7 separate regions of the Homo sapiens genome follow, and all the other regions are linked to region 1. The links are contacts of gene promoters, found by promoter capture Hi-C in blood cells and fetal thymus (Javierre and others, 2016). All regions are on one chromosome and are shown on one strand. The core of a region is centred on a gene start or on the middle of the fragment in contact, and the rest is flanking DNA. Distances in the headings are between cores, read along the strand shown.

Region 1 (3,171 bases), core at 552-3,051:
GAACAAACAGCCACGCGCAATTTAACTGCAGCCAAACTCAAAGAGACCTTGAGCCTGCCGAATTGTTTCACTCAGCCAGGTGCCCCCCAGAAACCGGCTATTCTGCAATCAGTTGTGGAATCCTGCAATTATTCATAAAATGTGCTGAAAATGTATTTTAGGAAACGTAATCTTGCTATATATGGCAAGGTAAAGGCGAACCTGAAGGATGAATGTGTTTCTGCTTTTTAATGTCATACGTGTAGCCATCTGACCACTTTTTATTGGGTGACATATCATATGAGCACTTTGGTGTAGGCTTGGAAAAACTACAGCCAGAGGTAAGGCTGGAAATTCCATAAGAGTTAAGGGTGCTGAAAATGGATGCTGGATAGTCCAGCATGAAAGATGGCATACCGCTTTAGGTTTGAAATAGGGGGAAATACATGTGAATATTTATACATGAAGGCCATTGGGGAGGGCTGAGTCTTGGCCTGAGTATCTGTGCAGGTAAGTCATTCATAAGAAAACTAATTACCTGTGCATGTACTTGGACTTGTTTAATTGAATAAGCTGCATGTGTGCATACTTGCTGTTCTTTCAGGGTTTGCAATTATAGATTGAGTCTTTTTTAAATGATAGCTTGGGGGAATTAAAAGGTGGAAAAAAGCCATCGTGCTGCATAGCTATATTGCCAAGAAAGAGAATCCGATCCTATAAACAAGATTACCATTGCTTGAAATCTAACTCAAGGCCTGTATATTTTAAGCCACATCAACTGGTTTAATATAGCCAATTGTTTTATTTGTGTATTTGCTTTCATTTCAAAGTCAGGAATCAAGGATGCTTTTCAGTCAAGATAATGTGCCTTGTTTCCAGCCATATTAAGATAAAAATGAAACTCAGTAAATTTTGAATGCAGCCAATAAGGTACAACATACAACATGGTTGAAAATGTCTTCCTTGCAGAAGGCTGTCCATTGCTGTGTCTACCCATTTTAAAATATATATATTTTTTTCAATAAGAAATGCTAGAAAGCAATAGGGCGGGGAATGCCGCACCTCTCAGGCAATCAGCACAAAAATTATTTAGAAATCTTTGGAATCACTTCACTTATACATACATTATCTCGAAAGCACTGGCCCCGAACTGTGTTTCTGCTAATATGAAGTTAATTAGACAATCAAACTTTGAGCCTTGAGCGATGGGCACTACAGCCCATCAAGGTATGTCAAGAAAGAAAAAAAAATGTGTATTTTCCTTTATGACCAAACCAGGAGGTTATACAGCTGGCATTGCATACATGACAGATGTGCATATTTGTAACCTTAAATAAACAGAAGCAGGGAGGTAACTGTGTATATTATCTAGCAAGAGACAGCAGCAGACACTCGCCAAAAAAGACAGAAAGGGACAAGAGAGACACATAGACATAATAAAATAACAACAATAAAAATCCTCCAAAAAAAAAAAGAGGGAAAGGGAACCAATAAAATGACAAAATCTGAAATTCTCGCAAATTAAAAAATGCAAATATACCTTTACATATGCATCAGTATTAAAAATAATACACGCTGGAACCAACAGGAGCGAGAGCAAGAAGAGGAGGAGGAGGTGGAGGAGAAGGAGGAGGAGGAGGAGAGGTGGAAGAGGAGGAGGAGGAGGAGGAGGAGGAGGAGGAGGAGGAGGAGGAGGAGGAGGAGGAGGAGGAGGAGGAAAGAATGGAGGCGCCGCGGAGCCCTGATTATGCATGGGCTGGAGCTGCCTCCTCTAACCTGTTCTTCTCCGAGCCGGGCAGCCGGCGGTCCTCAGCCGCCCACAGAACAGGAGCCGAAACAACCGTTCTCGAAGGCTACAGCGTTTATTTTTCTCTTTTGGGGGGTTTTGGCGGTTGTTTCAGGGGCTCGCCAACTGGCCCCTTTAATTAAAAGCTTCAATAAAAGGCGATCGCGCCAGGAATGCACCCGCTCCTCTTCGCGCAGGATTTGCATATTTTTTTAATGCCCTAATTTCCTTGATGTATGTAAATGTAGCCGGACGTAGAGGGAGACAGGGAGCTGACGTCAATGGACGTGACCTCGCAGCTAAACCTTGAACGTGAAGCCGGGATGGGGGAAAACACGGAGCGGCAGCCGGCGGAGCCCGAGAGCGCGGGCGGCGGCGGCAGTAGCCGAGCCCAGGCCGGGGTGCCAAGGGACCAGTGCCGGCCCCGGGGGAGGACAAGCCGCCGCCTTCTTTCTGCACCGCGCGGCTCTCAGACTCGCCAGCCTTCCGGCCGCACACGCAGACTCTTGCCCTGAGCTTCCAGCCCCACCACACACACGTTCTTTTGCTTCCCTCAGAAAAGCAACACTCCCCAAAACAACAAACCAAAATCAACAGATAAAACAGATGTTTTAGACCAATGCTCGGGTAGCTTATCAGAAAGAAGACTCTGACCACGGAACATATATATTTTTTGGCTTCTCTCCACAAGAAGAGGAGCGAGAGACCACAGACAACAGCAAATCACTCCTAAAACACGATAACTACAAGTGCTCCCTGTAGGGAGAGGTAAATCGCCCAGCCGACTGGTGAAGTCTTCTGGTTTCGGTACCTATTTACCTGTGCACTCATTATGCGCCTCGGCTTCATTAACGGCAGGATCATGAGCGCGCGTTTTAATGTGATGGGAGTGCTGTGTTGTGTGTGTGTGTGTATGTATGTATGTGTGTTGGGAGGTGCTTGCGCTAGTGAGCACCGAGGCAGGCGCTCTGAGCAGAGAGAGATCAGTCTTTCCATGGCCACGTCTGGGACTCATCTGCGGAGCCATCTAGGCCAGGGCTCCTAGATTGGGGTTCGACTTCACCCCATGTAAAAAGAGAGGCCAGCAAAGGCTTCCCCTGAACAGCCAGGTCCTTCCCATCGGATTGTTTGAGGAAGGAGGCTTGAAGTGTGAGCCATTCTGTAGCCGCCGCCTTGCCGGATTTGGCCTGGTGTTTTGCACTTGAAACTCAGCGGCCTCAGCGCGGAGGTAGTGCCTCTCCGAGACGCGGCCGAGGCCTTGTCATTCCCCTCCTTCCGCCCGCGGCAGCCCTGCGCGCCGGCGTGTGCGTGCCCGCGCACCGGACCGCTGGCACCTCCCTGTGCACATCCGCCCCCTCCTCTGCTCGCCCCCTCCTCTGGGGCAGCTAAGAAATGGTCCTCGGCCT
Region 2 (2,974 bases), core at 264-2,763, 890 kb after region 1:
AGTACTTGTTTTCTGATGCTACTATTGCTCTAACCAGCATTAAATGTCCTCTTTTGATAATTGCCTTTAGAAGCCACTGCTCACTCTTTCGAACATTTTTTATAATGGAAAATCTTTGTCCAATAAAGGAAGATCTGGCTTTGGGAAACTGATACAGAGTTAAGTCTGCTGAACATAGATATTTCTGCTCTGGATTTAAAAATGAAACATATAAAATAAGAATATTTTTCTAGCAGCTAATAAACGCCCTTTGAAGGCTATTCCAAAAGAAGAATTTGACAGATGTTTTAAGCATTGGAGAGGGAGGAGTCCAGTGGCTTCAATGAAACACGTGTATAGGCTTTCAGGATAGCTGCTGCAAAAAACATCATTTAACATGTCACATTGCTTCGTGGTCAGTTACTTTGTAAGGAGAAACAGAGAAAGAATGTTGCTAACTGGCTTTCCAATGAAATCTCCAATCGGAGCTAGGACTTTAACATATAGATTGAATGTAAGGTGATTTGACTTTACTTTTAAAATATTCCAAGAAGTAGTTTGGCATCTCAGAATATTCTCAACAGATGTTTACAATTTCTCTCTGCTGAATGAGGAAACTAATGCATGTACTTTGTGAATATGGGCTGAGATTGAACTGGAAGGCCTTATCAGGTCAAAAGAAAGCCTTCAGCTTCTGTACACAACCTTGGATATTCTGATGAAACTGTAAAGAGTCCTACTAATAGCTTATTTTCTCCCCAATGAATCTTTGAATCTTAGGGAAACTATAGCTGAGTACATCCAAATATTTTCACATGAAAGCTCCAGGGACAAAGTCAGGCAATCTCAAAATTTTACAAAGTACCAAGAGAGAAATATTGTAAAATCTCCCATCCTGGGAAATTAAATTTTCTTAAATGTTTCAAAAATAGAATTCAAGGAAAGTAACATTCTGAAAGCAGAGAACCCTAAGTAGAAAGCACTATATTGGATACTTAACCAACTTCAGGCATGACAAATGAAACATTCTGTCAAGATGTGGTCCACTGAATCTACCACAAATAAATGTTATCATTATGAATTAGACGTGTATGAAAAGAGATGATTAAAATTTTACTACAAATTCAATTTCAAAAATCCAATATCTATTTCATTGAACTAAAATTTATCTTACTAACAATGTTACTTCAACTTAAATGAGAAATAGCTTTTCCTCCCTACCCCCACCCACCACCAAAATAACATGAATATAACATATATCACTAGGGGAAAAATCATATTTAATCTAACTGAAACTATTTTGTGGACTAGATGCTAATAACATTTAGACTATTTTTGGCATGGTTATTCAATTTAAAACAAACATTCAATTTTTATTTTGATGTCATATGCATGAGACTGAGGTAATGTTTTCTTCAGGTAGAAGGAAATAACACTTTGTATATACATCACTATAATTTTGCAAGTTGGTCTTTCGAGAGGCTTTGGAAGATATAAAAGAAAAATCTCTATTTTTCTTTAACACTTTGATAAATGAGTAATTTCAGAAGAAAATGTGATTATGCATAGAGAATAAAATTCTATAAAATAGTCTGCTTTCTGTATTATCAACAGTTTGAAATAATTGGGTAAAATATGTGGCACTTTTCATTTTTACTCTATTTCTAATACAAATTGATTCAAATAATGTTATAGTATTGTTAAAAGTGCTAAATAAGTACCAATTTGGGTACAGTGCATTGTTGTTTTATGAATATCTAAACATACGAAATTCTAGTCAGAGATCATGGAAATTACTCAGAGATTATATGTAATTTGATCACAAAAGGCTACATAATAAAATAACAAAACAGAATTACATTTCAATTTTAAGGAAAGTGATAGGGATTAGAATTATTATTATATTTTAGTGTTAAAGCTAAAACAATTTCTAATTTGTTTGCAATTCTTAAATGTGATACAAGAGAAAGTACTCAGGAAAGACACCTCCAACTACATAACAGTGTGAAGATTTGGCCTACCTTAAGTATTATTAGTTCAGTGAGGGTACTGAACAAAATTTTGATATTTTTGTTACTACTATGCTTTATTATTTCTGGGCAATCTAAAGAAGAATTAACATTACAGCACTTTTTTAAAATGGAAAACAGAAAATGTACTTTATAGACACTAAAAAATTCTATTATTGCAACTTAGTTATTTTACATTCTAGTTACTTGCCTAAGATACAAGGCAGTCTAAAATTGCCAACTGATGACTGAATTAAAAATTTTTCATACAGTAAATGACTAACTCTCAGGTTTCTTTTAAGAGACACAAATCAGTAAAGGAACTGAACTAATCAGTACAAAATTAACAGGTGATACCCACTTGAAAAAATCAAATCTAATGAAAATAAAATTAGCAACAGATTCTGTTGTTTAATTATCTGTATCAGCTAGCATATACAAATGTTAAAACTTTTCAACTGAATTGCTGCATTTATAAAAATGTATGCACAACATCATATTTTAAAAGGAAACTATCATCCAACACATAACTTGGCAATTTTTTGTTAGTTAACTGTTCTACTCAAATTCGATATATTGATTTAAATATTTAAATACTTTATTTAAATCTGCATTCAAAGTATGACATTAGGAAGGTGTTGAAATAAAAATACAAAACAAAATTTATAAATTATAATATTTAATGCCATATGTTTAAAAATGTTGAAAGAATGTAATGTCTAAATTTAAAGTCTAAGCTAACAAATCTAGGAGACCCTACAAATGGGAAATATTGATTAACAATTAGGTAACATTTTGAGTACTTAAAAAAATAATTTAATAATAAAATCTAATTTATAAACGCAATTTAAATCTTTGAAAATTAAGTAAAAAAGTTATACAATATGAAGAGATGAAATTTTGCCTAAAACATAAAATAATTTAGTATTGTTTTTATTTTCTGTTTATTATATTCAACTTAAAAATTGTATTTCTTGTGTATATTT
Region 3 (2,825 bases), core at 132-2,631, 950 kb after region 1:
ATTCTTCCATATACAACCTTTGCAGAAATAACTGAGCCAGAACGCATATCAGTTATATTGCTTTCATGTTTGAGGCCCAACTGTTGCACCTTCTGGGTCGATGCCAAATAGAGATTTTTCTAGTAGGCAATATAAGTTTTCACTACTAATTGGATCTGGCATGTACTCTCACAAATAGTCACATTTGTTTTTTCTTGATTGATTTTTAAACTATTTGTCAATGCAAGGTCAACAGTGACCCTTCTCAGGTCTTTCAGCCATGGGGATTGGTCCTCAGCCTGCTGAAATGCCAAGCAATTTTAGTTTATTTCATTTGTCTACTTCATGTTTATAAAAGTGCATTGACATACACATCGACACACTGTTTTTTAATGAGTTGTAAGCGTTTGTTGTCATTAAAAAAATATATTTTAGAAAATTTGAAAGAGAAAAGAAAAATATCACAGTCACCACAGTAACACAATTATTATTTGTGTTTATTACCTAATTTTTTAGTAATAAATCCTTAAAAATTATTGTATATTTTAAAAATATGTGTCTTAGTCTTCTCCTTCCCTTTGGCCCTTAGGTATACATAATTACAGGAATTACAATCTTTGTTCATGACAAATGCTATGTAATGTTCATGCAAGGCCCTATTAATTTTTTACTCACTTATTTGTAACACTATAAGATCTCTCACAAATTCACCATCATCTCCTCATATATTAGGAGCTTCATATTAACCTACATCAAATGTTTTGTTCCTCATTCCTCACTCTGCCTTTCCCTACTAAAGGTAACAATCATTCAAAATTCTGTTCTTACCAATCTCTTATTTCATGTATTGCATTTAGATGCACTCCTTAAAAGCTTATTTTTTTTTAGATTGTTTAAAAGTTGAGCATACTGCATGTAATCTTTTGGAATTTATCTTTTCATTTAATAATCTTATTACTAAGATTTATTCCCAATGTTGTCTGTCACTCTATGTCATTCATTATGATTTCTGTACAATAAACCATTGTGAATATACCACATTTTTTTCTTCTATTTTCACTTGGATGGACACTTGGGTTGCCTTTATTATAGTCTTTAACTGTCAGTTTTAGTAGTTTTATGATATTCCATCAATTTTCCTAAACAGCTCTATATATTTTTTATTTTGTTGCATATAATACATTGCTCTATTGATCAAGGTTGGAGTGAGCACCTCTGTACTAATAGGTTTCCTGCAATATATATTATACCTTAGACAGAGACAGAATTATTAGGTCAAAAGATATAAGCATAATAGATATTTCCAATTTGCATTCCAAAGGATGACAATTCCATCAGCAATTGCACAATTATCACATCACCATAAGCACTGTCTAATTTATTTTTTGTTGTTAATTTAAAAGATAGTTATCTTTTGGCTGGGTGCAGTGGCTCATGCCTGTAATCCCAGCACTTTGGGAGGCCGAGGTGGGTGGATGACCCGAGGTCAGAAGTTCGAGACTAGCCCGACCAACATGGAGAAACCCCGTCTTTAATAAGAATAGAAAATTAGCCAGGCATGGTGGTGCATGCCTATAATCCCAGCTACTTGGGAGGCTGAGGCAGGAGAATCGCTTGAACCCTGGAGGCATAGGTTGCCGTGAGCTGAGATCATGCCATTGCCCTCCAGCCTGGGCAACAAGAGCAAAACTCCATCTCAAAAAAATAAATAAAATAAAATAAATATAGTTATGTTTTACTTTTAAGCCTCACTGATTTCAGTCAATAAATGAATATTGACATATTAGAGGTAAGGCATTAAGAGTGAAATAATGGCTCATAAACGAGCTCAAAAGTCTAGTTTGAAATTCTCAATGGGATATATTGTCAGTAAGCATTGTTTATTCTTACTAGAGTGATTTTCAACTTGCAAGTAAAAAAGCTGAAGCTTAAAGGAAATGAGTAATTTTTCTAAAATTATATAGTTAGTTTTCTATCACACTGTATTGCTTCCCAACTGACCAAATGTAAAATGGATCATCAAAATTTTTAACTTGTTTTCATTTTGAGTGATCTCTTTAAATTTCTGTAGGATTTATAATCTTGGCCCTACAACATAGTACTTGAACACGCATCTACTGTTATTTTAATTCCACCCCCCGCCCCACCCCAAGGAATGGCCTTCTTTTCCTGCTGTTGCTTCTCCCTTGAATTTATCCCTCACAATGTGTTGTAGTGTCAGGTCTAGAGCAATTTGTACAGACAGACAAGCTGAGCTGACCTGTCTGAAGTCACACTCTTTCTATGTTGGAGACACTTGTCTTACCATTCCTCTAAATCAAAATATTATTAATTATGTAGATTTGATATCTCATTTTCAACTCATTCTTCTTTCATATGCCATATGTTCAATAATATTAATTAACTAGTTTGCATCACAGCATGGCATAAAGTGCATTGCAGTGTTTGTATAATTTATATAAATGTTTGCCACAAGATTACTTGGCCAATGGAGACAGTAGTAGGGACTTTTTTTTTCAGTCTCACACAGAACAACATTTGCCAGGCACTCACAACACAGCCACTCTACTCAACTACCTCAACTAGAGACAATTTTTGTTCAGTCTGATTCATCCCTAACAAAGCAAACATATTTAATCCTTGGTCTTTATGACTAAAGTCAGCAGTTTTACCCATCAAAGCTGCAAGTTCCCACCCTTTTCCTGCATGCCTGCAATCTGCATCTGAATTGCCAGATGATTACTCTGCTGGGTTCCTTATGCCCACTCATAAACAGTTACCGGTCTTTGTGGTCCTGTGCAAAAATAGGCCCCTGGATGAGTCATTCGTTGTGTATCCAGATACCG
Region 4 (2,917 bases), core at 86-2,585, 870 kb after region 1:
TTTTTCTACCCCTTGGGATATACCACCTATCGAGGTATGTTCCCTTCTCTGTCATTGCATGTGCCAGTTTTTTCCAATGGTCTAAAGCAACAGGTTGTAGACATACCATTATTTTCTAGAGCAATGGTAATATAAATCTGCTACAATGAGCCAGCATTCCTGTTGCAAATAAGCTACTGTAGAGGATACCTAGTCCATAGGCCAATGTATGGGCTTATTCACATGATCCTTATTCTGAAAGAATGATAAATGCGGTCTAAAGGTATTTCTGTTTGTTTCTCTGTTAGACATTGAATTAAGGTGAGCTGTGCTTTATTTCAGACCAGTCCTATTGGTGTACATTAACTTGCACTTGACTTTTTGAAACCTGTCTATGTAAGAGACTGATCCTACAAGGGAAAATATATTAGAAGGGGATTGGAACTCAGGAGAGGTATGGTGTGAAGGTGTAATGGAAAAAGAGGGTAGGATGTGAGATGTGACTACACTCATGCAATTCATGGGTTTCCTACAGAACCCCTTCTTGGATGTTTCAAGCTACACTCTCCCCTGCCCTTCATAGCAACTGTGCAGAGTGCTGAGGTACCACTTTACCACCTGTTACTGAGATTGTCTATGGAGTCCATTTATCACATTTAGTTGTGAGCAGTTGGAGCCCAGGAATTTTTCTTTCTGTTTTTTTTTTTTTTCTTTTTTAAAACAAGAGACATAATGGACATACATTAATGGCATATATTTTAATTGTAGAATTTGACAAGTTTTGATATATATGTATACCCATTAAGTCACCCCAACAAGGTAATGAACATATCTAGTACCTCCAAGTTTCCTGAAGCCTCTTTGTTATGCACCCTTCCACCCCTGCCAACCTCTCCCAAAGCCCATCCCCAGTCAAGCACCATTCTAATTTCTGTCACTATAGATCACTTTGCATTTTAAAAATTTTTATATAGGAGAAATCATTCAATGTATGCTTTTGAGGAGGTCTGTCCCCTTTCACTCAGCCTAATTATTTTGAGATTCTTCCATGTTTTCATATTTAACAATAGTTCATTCTTTTGTTATTTCTGAGTAATAACATTATTTGGATATGTTCATTCACCTGTTGATAGACATTTAGGTTGTTTCCAGTTTTTGCCTATTATAAAATTTGCTTTTATGTTAAGTGAAATAAGCCAAACACAGAAAGACAAATATTGCCTGGTCTCACTCATATGAGGGAGCTAAAAAAAAAAGTGGATCTCATGAAGGTAAAGAGTAGATTGGTGGTTACCAGAGGCTGGGAAGGGGAGAAGGAAAATGGCAGAAAGAGAAGTTGGTTAATGGATACAAATATATGGTTAGATAAAAGAAATAAGACCTAATGTCAGATAGATAAGTATGGTGTCTATAGTTTACAATAATCTATTACACATTTCAAAATAGTGAGATAATAATTCAAATGTTTCTAGCATAAAGAAAAGACAAATATTTAAAATGATGGATATCCCAATTATACTGATTTGATCTTTACAAATTATATGAATGTGTTAAATTATCACACGTACTAAAAAACTATGTGTATCTATTATGCATCAATGAAAAAATTATTTAAATAAAAGACTATAAATTGTGTGCAGTGTATACTGCTCAGGTGATGGGTTTACCAAAATCTCACAAATCACCACTAAAGAACTTACTCCTGCAATCAAGCACCACCTGTTCCCCAGTAATCTATGGAAATGAAAAAATAAAAAAATATTTCCAATAATAAAATTAAATCACGTATCAAATCAAAGGAAAATTATAAATAAATAATAAATAAAGCTACTATGAGCATTCATGAAAAAGTCTTTATAAGTCTTTATATAGAATAAATGTATGCATTTATTTCTTTTGGGTAAAGACCTAGGAGTGAAACAGCGGCTTCCTATCGTAGGTGTAATTTAACTTTTCAAAAACTGCCGAACTATTTTCAAAAGCGGTTGTACTACTTAACATTCCCACAAGCAATATATGAGAGTTCCAGTTCTTTCACATGCTAGCCAACACTTATTATGGTCAACCTTAATTTTAGCTATTATAATAAGTGTGTAGTGGTGTCTCATTATGATTTTAATTTGCATTTCCTTAATGAGTATTTTAATAATGTTGTGCTTTTCTTCATATACTTAATTTTGACATTTACAAATATTACTTGGTTTTGCCCATTGAAAAAAATTGTTTGTTTTCTTATTATAGACTTTCGAGAGTTCTTTATACATTCTGGACACAAGTCTTTTAGCAGATAATCGGCTTGCAAATATTTTCTCCCAGGTTATGGCTTATCTTTTAAGTGTCTTTTAAATAGCAGAAGTATACATTTAAATGAAGTCCAATTTATCCATTTATTTTGTTCTCAGTTATGTTTTTATTGTCATACCTAAGAAATCTTCCACCCTTATTCTTCTGAAAGTTTCATTAAGTTTCACATTTAGGTCTGTGATTCATTTTGAATTATTTTGTAATGATGTGAGAAATAAAAATTATTTTTTTCTCTTCTGTTTTTGGCATATAGATATTTAATTACTTCAGCATCATTTTTTGAAGAGACAATCCTTTTAAAAATTTAACTATCTTTGCATATTTATTCAAAACTAGTTTTCTGTAATTGCATGGGTTTATTTCTGGATTCTCAATTCTGTTTCATTTATCTATTTTTCTATATATTACACTAGTTTATATAAATTTCAAAATTAGGTTGTGTTAAGCCTTTAACTTTTTCTTCAATTTCAAGTTGTTTTGACTATTCAAGATTTTTTGAATATCCAGAAAAATGTTTGAATCAGCTTGTAAATATCCACCAAAAAAAAAAAAATGCTGAGATCTTGTTTGGATTTTATTGAGTCTGTAGATCAATTTGGAAAGAACTGACATTTAACAATATTATATCTTTTGA
Region 5 (2,931 bases), core at 158-2,657, 910 kb after region 1:
AGTGACACAAAGTTATTTAAAGAATGGATTAGTGCTATCCCAATTATTGACTTTTTTTTCCCCTACAATGGTAATTTTTCTTTTTGATTTTCATTGATGGTCTCTGCCCTCACTTCCTCTGAATAAAGCCTTGGAACTTCTATTCATAATTGGATAAAATTAGAAAGAATCCCACATCAAGTAGCAAGATGCCTTAGCTATTATTACATTGTAAAATTCCAAAGAAAACCATTTAGGCATGTGGGCCCCATTTAGGGATTTCTGTTTTATAAGTCATGTTGGTGTAGAAGTGTGTGAGTGGAACTCCACAAATTATACTTAACATTTACTCCTAAGTAAGCTGGTAAATCTGCGTGAAAGGAAGCCCAAGTCTCCACTCTTGCTTCCAGTTCTCATGCTTATAAAGCGAACTGTCAGCCAATTCCAGCAAAGCCAAAGGGGGAAGATGTTTTTGTAAGCTTCCTTTAACTGGCAACATTTAGTGCACCACACTAATATCCCAACAACATCGCTATGGCAACCTCAGGCAAGCCCTGCGCATCCCTTAACTTCCAGGCCTCGGCAGAAAACTTGGCTTGCACCACCAGGAGGTGGGGAGGTGGGGAGCCGGGGAGCTGGGGAGTGGGGAGCTGCGAAGAAGGTTGGCTCCGGGCTCTACCCAGCATTAGAAACAAGGGCGGGAGGGCTGGCGGGTGAAGGGGGACGACACCACTTGATATCCTTTCTAAGTGATTCCTGTGTTACTCTGACTTTGTTTTAGTTATCACGTGAGCTAATTACAATGCTAATTAGCCCAGTTTACGGGGACTGCTGTGCATTTGTACACGAGGGTTCTTTGTTTGATCTGCTACATCATAAGCTTACCAGCACGGAGGGATAGCATGTATCGTTGAACGTGGAAGAACACACCTTCATTTGTGTTAATGAAGAAAACTACTGAAAACCAACAGACTAATTAAGGGTAACGATGAACAATTTTGATCAGCAATTATTTTTTAATATCGAAGTTCGCTCCTGGAAAGAGTAGAATGGGGAAGTTCATCTTCCAGCTTTCTACCCAGAAAAGTAGTGAGAGAGAGATCCTGCTTCATTTCCAATTCTTCTCCCACAAACTGTTTTAACATATAATTTAATCGATGCCTTTATTTCAAAAGAAAAAAATAATTATAGAGCTTGTTGGGATCATTTTCTGAAGAGAGGACATTATGCGTGCATGAATTCCATCGGTGATCTGAGGAGGAGCAGGCTGCTTGGACCATTACCCATCATTGTCGAACAGCAGAGTAATTAATTGGGCAAATACGTCTAGATCTGGTGAATTCACATGCACAGTAACTGGGCAGCAGCAACACACACTCTTTTACTGTGAATAAAATAGCAATAGTTTTATGTGCCTTTGTGCTATGTAAAATGTCTTTTTTTTTCCTCTTGGCTTTATCCATTCCAGATTATTTTGTCCATCTTTATGTACTCATTTGAAAAGAGGTTGCTTATTACAAAGGAAAAAGATATCTAGATGAGCAAGTTTGAATTCCATGTCTCTGTTTATTTTTAAAGGAATGAATTGGGTTCATTATTCTTTCACTAATTTTTAAAATAATTTAATATTTTCACTAAAATGAGTTAAATGAGCATGAGGAAATAGTATTTTTTAAACTAGTTCCAGGAATGGACAAGCTCCTAAAAAAATTATTAAGGCCTTCTAATTACCGTACAATATTAATTCAAAAATTTAATTTTTTATTTAAGTGTCATCTACAGAGGTAAAAAATAAGGCACAGCATTTGTCCTGGAGAAACTTCTTATAATAGTCCTCTGTAAAGTATAGATAATCAAACAATCTAACACTGTTTATTTGAACATCAAAAAGTGGACAAATATTTAGAGGAAATAATATAATTGTTTTAATGCAAATCATCTCTGATGGCTAAGTCCAAATGTAATAAGAAAGCTTAGGTTTTGATTTAAAAGGAAGTCAATTTTCCAGCATCTCCCCTTCTGAAGAGGTTAAATGATGATTCTTTTTTTTTTTTTTTCCGATCACATTTTAATCCAGATGACAGAGGACTTGCACTCCTAATTCAGACTTTCTGGTAAAGCTCAGCTTGTCACAATGTATAGCTTTCTTTTCTTTGATAAGGTCAGTTTGCCAAAAAGAACAAAGTGCATATGAGTAATACATTACTCAACCACTTGTATACATACATCTATTTTTCTTACCAGGTCTCACTATTCAGAAAGGTACAGACATGGCACCATGATAAAAAGGGTCATTTAAAAGACTTCGCAGAGGCTCTGTACTGTGAAGGATTGAATTTTCACTTGAATGCCTACATTTTCACATCTTTTTCTTTGCAGAAATATTCCTTTTGAATGGCAGACTGCAATTGGGTAGGTTTTTTTTTTTTTAAGTCACTGACCAGGAATATATAAAATATTAGAAGGCATTTGTCCCAGTGGAAGAACACAGTTCACTACCAGGTACCAGGTGGTTATTAAGAAAGTTATACAACTTTATCTCTTCAGATTGAAGAGCTCCTTCAGATAAAAGCCTTAAGTTCAGTCAAGGTGGAAGGAACACTAAGGTCTGTCACTTCTAAATGACAGACAATTTAAATAACTTGTGAAATCATTAGCCTCAAAGCCATCTACCTAGTAATTTTTCATAATCACATCCAATGTGTATTCTTAGGAACACACAAGCAGACTCCAGTTTATCTTTCTATCTACTTCAATATTTGATCACAACATTTTGAGAAATATGCTCATGACTAATTTTAAAACCTCTAATTTTTCTTTAATGGTTTTATATTTCCCAAATACACTTAAAGGGGTGGGGAGGAGAGAAAAGTCTATTAAATACACTGAAACTTTTTAATATTGGTTACTGGATTCCCTAAGGAGTTAGTGTAAATTCAGTTCAGTTGAATG
Region 6 (2,923 bases), core at 48-2,547, 830 kb after region 1:
CACTGGTTATGCAGCAGAAGCTTCTATTGCATTTTCCTTTGATCTTCTAAATCCCAAACCCATTTAACAAAAATAATCAGAGCTCGTGTATGCTTTACAAAAACTTGTTTGTCTTCGCTTTACTACTCAGTTGAGTTTCTAAAGCAAATATATTTCTCAACTGCATTTTAATTTTTCTGATCATTTCTGTTTTTATTGGCTAATGCACAAATTCATGTTTACTAAAAATCACTGCATTCCCAATGCTATTGAGTAAAGAGGATTTCATAACATCTCTGATTTTACATGGATCAAACAACAAATTTGAGATTCATCACTGTCTAAAAATCTTTATCACTTAGACTCCCCTTACTCTAACATCATTCTTTCTGTCATACTATCAAATATTTCACCATTTCCTCTTTGCTCCAAAGGCACTAGGTGGAGCTAAACCTGTCCTCTACTGTCTTACTTTAGTTATTTGCCGTGATTTTACTGTGTTAATTCTCACTGCATGTTGAACATGCTCACTCTTCAGAATGGTCTGAGATATCAAGAATTTGCTCTCAACAACATCTGCAGTTATTTTGATTTACTTAGGACATTAATCCTCATGTTTTCTTCAATACCAAGTATGTAGAATTTTTTAGTTGGAGTTTTTTCAAGCCACATAATTGTTTGAACTTTTTGCTTTTTTGCCCTGCTCATATCTTTTAAGAGATGTCAAAGTAGAGAGAATTGTAGATACAACCAGTCCTCACCAAAGACAAGAAAGTCTGATGCCAATTCACAGTACAGAGTTCTAAAGCTGATGGAGGTCCTGAAGAATGGGTGTACCTTAATAACAAAAAGCCCCTAGGAATGAGTCTGGTGAGTGATATAAGAGGAAAACAAGGAAATTCACTGAAGTCAAAATCCCAAATTTGAGAATCTTGAAACTAAGAAAAGTTGTAGGAACTTTTTCAAGTCCCATGAGACTCATGTTTTCAAAAACAAAAGAGACTTCCAAGAATGTTTCATAGAATTTCTGACTTTTGAAAATGAGAATATAATTAATTTTAGACCAATTATATTTCAAAGATTCTTTTGAAGAGGCTTGAGAGATTCAGATTGGAAATTAATTTATAAACTCCACTCCCAAATGGTACCACCATCACTGTTCCCTCCCTGGTGTTCTGGATTATGGGACACATGAAAATCAAGGGCTGACAGCCACGGTGTTGCCAGGGACACAAGGACTGATATACAGAAAATACATGCAGGAAGAACTGGTGGTTTCAGTGCCTGCCACCACTAGAGATTTATTTCTCTGAGACATGAAGGCTTTTCTTTAAATCGTAGAATCTTAGGAGTGAAGGGAACCACAGAAGTGAGCCCAATACCACCATTTTATATATTAACAAATGAGGTATAACCAGTTAATTTGTTCAAAGTCACAGTTAGTGTGCTATTTCACTTGGACTGGAAATGAAGTCTCTTATAACCCGCTACTATTAGTTATGACTGAAATCTAACAAAAAGGAAATTTTTTGAAAGAATGCTGGGTGTCTTAGCCAGAGTTTCCTCGAAAGTAGAGGCTGACATGAAGGATTCTTTATAGGGTATCTGAGACTGTGATGCCAGGGAACAGTAGTACAGGACAGGGGGAATAAAACAAGGAAGGAGAAAAAGCCAATCAAGGGAGATTTATAAAGTTGGCCATCCTAACTTGCACCAGAGAATTGGATGACTGCTGTTCGATCTCTCTGAGACCTCTGGAAACACTTATAAAATACATCTTGAGGTCAAAAGGAGAAAGTCTTTATCCAGCAGCTCCCATGGTTCAGCAGTGGCTCAATTAGCATTAAATCCCTTATACTTCCATAATCTACATACAAAACTGTGGAACAGATTCCCACACTGTAACATCTGAGACACTTCCAGGTGGTAAGCAGTAAGTACAGAGCTTGGGCCTTTGGTGAGATACCATATAAATGTACCCTAAATAAGTTGATGCATGCTTGCACAAAATTAATGGCCACAGCATGGCTGGTTGAGGAAGTTGGGTCAGGAGGATTCTGCAGGACAGAACATAAAAGATGTTTTCTGGACTCCAAAGAGAGCTAACAGCAGTAGGAAGGGCAGGAAAACTGCTTGGCCCCTTTCTCCACTCCTTTCCCCGCAATAAGTCATGTGGAATCAGTATCTCTAATGTTTCTCAAACTCTTTCTGTCCTTAATCTCTATATATTCTTCTTTCTCCTGGAAAGCTAGATTTTTCCATATGATGTAAACATAGTCACCTATGCTTATTAAGTTTATGTTATACAGCTTTATTCCAGAAGAGAAATTTCCCTGCATCTCTCTGTCTCAACTTAAAAATTCTCAAGAATGGGTATTGGCCTAGCCAAGGACAAGTGGTGTTGCCTGGATCAAAAGTCAAGATTATATAGGGCGTAGGAAGTGTAGGTAGAGTAGAGGGGAAGGCAGTTGTCAAAAAAGAAATGTAGTACATAGTAAGTGGACAAAATAGTATGTCCATACTACACTAGAAATGATATTATATTTGGAAGGAATAATACAAAATTAACATCTTGGTGGGAATTCTCCAAGCTTAGATGGCCTCTAAAACAGGGATTGTCTTCTAACACAGAATAGTCTCCCAGGGAAAGGGAAATCATACTATGATGGGAGATAAGACCATTTTTTCCTATTTTACAATTAACCTTAGGTTTATCTCTTAAATCAATCTTCCTAAAAACTGAATATGCAGGCAATAAGATGCAATATTAAGTACAAAAAATTTTTTCAAATCGTTGCTTAACACTTTTCTAAAAAGAAGAATCACTGTAGATTTCTTCTGTCTTCTGGTTGCAGTATTTATTGTAGTTATTTTCTTCGTAAAGTACAATTCATCTGGAGATGACAAGAAAGAAATAAAACTTACAACATGACAAAAATTTTGA
Region 7 (3,174 bases), core at 107-2,606, 850 kb after region 1:
CATTCATTCATTTATTGAAACAACCATCTTGAATTGGTCCTGGTTTCTCAAACAAATCAGTCAAAAATTGTCAAGACTAATTTAGCTGAAATTGCCTCCTGAGCACAATATTAAAATGTACAGTTCTAGTCAGAGCATTGATATGTGTTTTGGCATTGTCAATTCTTTTTTCACTGTTTTGTTATGTCCTCACTGCATGGCAGCTCTGGAGAACATCAGGAAAGATATATGCTAACTTTGGGATGGCAGTGATGCTGGAATTTTGTGTGCGTGCGTGCGTGCGTGCGTATTTTGCGTGCCCTTTAGATGAGAAATACAATTACAAGAACTCTATGCTCAGTTGGAGTCTCATGACTCATCACTCCATATCTAAATCAGCCCCCAAAGACATAAATCAGCCCCCAAAGACAGGGCTCTTGCAAATCCTGGAAGTATCCTTCTAATACTTACCCCTGACCTCCTGTTTCGGTTCCTGTATGCAGCACTGCTCTGTTTCAGAAAAAGATCGTTTTCCATTGTAATTCAGAAATACTCAGGTCCCCAAATGAACCTGAGATTTCAGCTATTCAGCAAATTTTTTATTTGCAAAGCACATGCCTGCTAGCCTGTGAGACTGCAGTTGCTATTCATATGAATGTTGGCAACATTTCATTGTGGGGGTCAATTATGGTCATTTACCATGATGACATAATAACAACTGCAAAAATGTGAAAGCTAAAGTAGGGTTATTATTACTGTTTGTAAAGTCTGTGTCCCAGATGTTCCTGCCAGGAGAGAGGAAAGCTGGAGTGCAGAGATAGCTGACAACAGTGCTAACCATTCAAATCGCCACCAGATTGAACAATTTACAAGACAGGGATGTAACAAGAGGCTAAAGCTGGTACTCAGGTTGCCCTGCCTCCCTCACCTTGAACTGCAAGACTTTTCCTTCTTGGCATGTCATGTCATACAGAAACAACCCTGCACCCTAGCCCCAGGATGAAAGAAAAAGAAGAAATACAGGCAGTGAATTTGCCCAGAGAGATGGGCCAACAGCCAGTGTCATTCTCTGATATATAGCCGAGGAGGAATTTATTTCCAACTAGTAGAGGATTGGGGGGCTCATAAAACTGCATAGCTTCAACCCAATGAAATAAGGTTAGTAAAATACATAAACTCTGATAAGGCACCGTGAAGTATGCCTCTAGTCACCTGCAATTCACCAATGGCTTCATGATAGATATTCTCGCACCTGGCTTTCCTTGTCAGCTGTGACCAGTGTGTGCCTTTTAACAAAGTTCAGCCTCCTTCCCTCCCGGACTCTCTCTTTTTTTCTACCTTGGAAAGAGGTCTGGTGCTAGGCTAGTAGAGGGCTTGCTGATTGCAGAGATGCTTAGCAGATCCTACAGCAGATCTCTTGAGTGATAACACTCTGATAGCAAGCACCAGCATGAGACAAAAGCAGAGTACTTGTCAAATAAAAAAATACAGCAGTAGTTGAATAGACGAATAGGTAATAAAAAAAATCAAGCCCTAAAAAAATTCAGCTCTGATGATGCCTGTTTTTTTAAAAAATGGAGAAAAAAATCACAGTGGGCAGAAACTCCATTTTTTTACACTTCATACTTCTGTCAGTGTGATGTTGAACAAGTACCATTAATCAAGAGTGCTGTTATTCATTAGGCACAGTGATGAACTTGAATTGTTACTTTAGTATCATTGTTCAAAGCCTCTGGAACTGCCTTAAAGAAGATGGGAAAAATTTATAGCTATAGTTTACAGCCAAGACTGTAAAAGAACTTTCCTACTGTTAACCAAATGTTAAACATGGTAATAATAGTAGTAATACCTTGTATTTATACAGTGACTATCTGAGAAACTCAAAGTACTCAACAAACAGTACATAGTATATTCATTGTCAGCAACATCGTTTTGCATAAAGTTAGTGGGAGGTAGTATTACTTTCTTTGCTATCAGGCCAATAACATGTTCTTTGTGTTTATAGTTCTCTCTGATGTAGGGGAGGTGGCAGACAGGAAGGAGGATGGGGATATGGCGTGTGTGTGGTGGCAGTGAGTGGATTGAAGAGTTTTGTGTATCTTTTGAAGAACTAACCCAAAAGGAATCCTTTTGCTGTGTAATGGTTGTAAGAGATTTGGATAAACATGATGGTTAATCCAGTCTCTCCAGGCATCAGAAATTAATTATAGCATATTCTAATCAGAATGCACTCCTGAGGAAATTAACTTGATGTACTCTGCCTGCTGAGAGGAGGAAGAGCCCTTAGGCCCTTTGGCAGGTTTCCTGACATCCCAAAGCTGACATGCTCATGCTGCTTCTCTGAGTGACTGGTTCCTGGCCCTGCCTACCTACTCACAGCTGATTGAACCAGGGTGGGCCAATCAGATTCCTTCTCCTGGGCATTTAGAAATGGATTGTGGGAAATCCAATGAGTGGAACGAACTTCTGAACTGGAAGGTGACTTAAAGACAGGCCTGCAATGACTCTATTTGACCCATCTGAAAAACAAACAAAAGAGAGGAGGAGGGAGAGCTTTGGTTCCTGAAGAATGTTCTGTTTCTCTCCTAGTCAGAGCCATTTCAGGCTCTATAGCCCATCCCTGATTCTTTACAGTAAATATCCATTCAGCTTAAGTGTTTTTCCTTTATTCCTGAACAAATATATGGTCTCTAACTAAGATAGAAAATATCCCAAGATAATCACACTCACAAGACTTTGTAAGAGTAAAGGACAGACCACATGCACAGGAAAGACCCTTCAGTGTATTTTATTTGGAGGGTCCTTGGCCCCCACATATCGAAATACCTTTTGTGGGGAGTTCAGCACAGCAGAGAGCATTTAGTGAAGCTGACAATTCAACTCTGAAAAGAGTGACATTTTGTTTTGTGTTTTATTTGCCCATTTCCCTCTCTTTAAATCTGATCCTATTTTGTTTAATTAATTGTGCCCTCTACATATCAGTGGGATTTTTTAAATTTTAAAAAGGCAATAACTTTTAAAAGCTTGGAGAAAATTGACTTGTCTTTATGCATCACTTTGATCCCAATAAGACAGGCACAACAAAAATCTCAACACTTGCCACTTGAGCCAGACTGAGGTGAACACCAGCAGTATGTTGAATTGTTGAGAAAAGTATTCAAATGCAATACTGTACCCCAAAATAATTCTTGCTCT

Evidence for each region. Contacts are between HindIII fragments. The CHiCAGO score rates a contact against its expected background, and 5 or more counts as called.
Region 2: a contact is called between a fragment that was not itself captured here and the fragment with the promoter of MEF2C-AS2 in region 1, in 16 of 17 cell types (naive CD8 T cells, total CD8 T cells, naive CD4 T cells and 13 more). The highest score is 26.9, in naive CD8 T cells.
Region 3: a contact is called between a fragment that was not itself captured here and the fragment with the promoter of MEF2C-AS2 in region 1, in 1 of 17 cell types (non-activated CD4 T cells). The highest score is 6.2, in non-activated CD4 T cells.
Region 4: a fragment that was not itself captured here is called in contact with the fragment with the promoter of MEF2C-AS2 in region 1 in 6 of 17 cell types (total CD4 T cells, activated CD4 T cells, non-activated CD4 T cells and 3 more); the score reaches 8.8 in total CD4 T cells.
Region 5: a contact is called between a fragment that was not itself captured here and the fragment with the promoter of MEF2C-AS2 in region 1, in 16 of 17 cell types (total CD4 T cells, naive CD8 T cells, non-activated CD4 T cells and 13 more). The highest score is 56.0, in total CD4 T cells.
Region 6: a contact is called between a fragment that was not itself captured here and the fragment with the promoter of MEF2C-AS2 in region 1, in 1 of 17 cell types (naive CD4 T cells). The highest score is 5.9, in naive CD4 T cells.
Region 7: a fragment that was not itself captured here is called in contact with the fragment with the promoter of MEF2C-AS2 in region 1 in 6 of 17 cell types (activated CD4 T cells, non-activated CD4 T cells, naive CD8 T cells and 3 more); the score reaches 6.8 in activated CD4 T cells.

The regions. Positions count from the first base shown.
Region 1 is chr5:88,674,848-88,678,018 of GRCh38, reverse strand. MEF2C-AS2 (MEF2C antisense RNA 2) reads right to left here and starts at 1,801. Exons shown (of 4, transcript NR_146284.1): 1 at 1,756-1,801. All of the region lies in intron 1 of MIR9-2HG (MIR9-2 host gene), which reads left to right. RefSeq lists enhancers at 1,727-2,292, 2,730-2,829. The HindIII fragment of the contact is 5,913 bases long and covers 1-1,913 here.
Region 2 is chr5:87,789,525-87,792,498 of GRCh38, reverse strand. No RefSeq gene overlaps it. Among named protein-coding and RNA genes, the nearest start is that of LINC02144, 58 kb to the right of the region's middle. The HindIII fragment of the contact is 5,719 bases long and covers 1-2,974 here.
Region 3 is chr5:87,722,332-87,725,156 of GRCh38, reverse strand. The region is part of intron 1 of LINC02144 (long intergenic non-protein coding RNA 2144); the gene reads left to right. Among named protein-coding and RNA genes, the nearest start is that of LINC02144, 9.3 kb to the left of the region's middle. RefSeq lists enhancers at 2,211-2,711, 2,712-2,825. The HindIII fragment of the contact is 1,054 bases long and covers 855-1,908 here.
Region 4 is chr5:87,808,304-87,811,220 of GRCh38, reverse strand. No RefSeq gene overlaps it. Among named protein-coding and RNA genes, the nearest start is that of LINC02144, 77 kb to the right of the region's middle. The HindIII fragment of the contact is 4,366 bases long and covers 1-2,917 here.
Region 5 is chr5:87,768,579-87,771,509 of GRCh38, reverse strand. No RefSeq gene overlaps it. Among named protein-coding and RNA genes, the nearest start is that of LINC02144, 37 kb to the right of the region's middle. The HindIII fragment of the contact is 1,092 bases long and covers 862-1,953 here.
Region 6 is chr5:87,842,140-87,845,062 of GRCh38, reverse strand. No RefSeq gene overlaps it. Among named protein-coding and RNA genes, the nearest start is that of LINC02144, 110 kb to the right of the region's middle. The HindIII fragment of the contact is 2,550 bases long and covers 23-2,572 here.
Region 7 is chr5:87,824,910-87,828,083 of GRCh38, reverse strand. No RefSeq gene overlaps it. Among named protein-coding and RNA genes, the nearest start is that of LINC02144, 93 kb to the right of the region's middle. The HindIII fragment of the contact is 3,297 bases long and covers 1-3,004 here.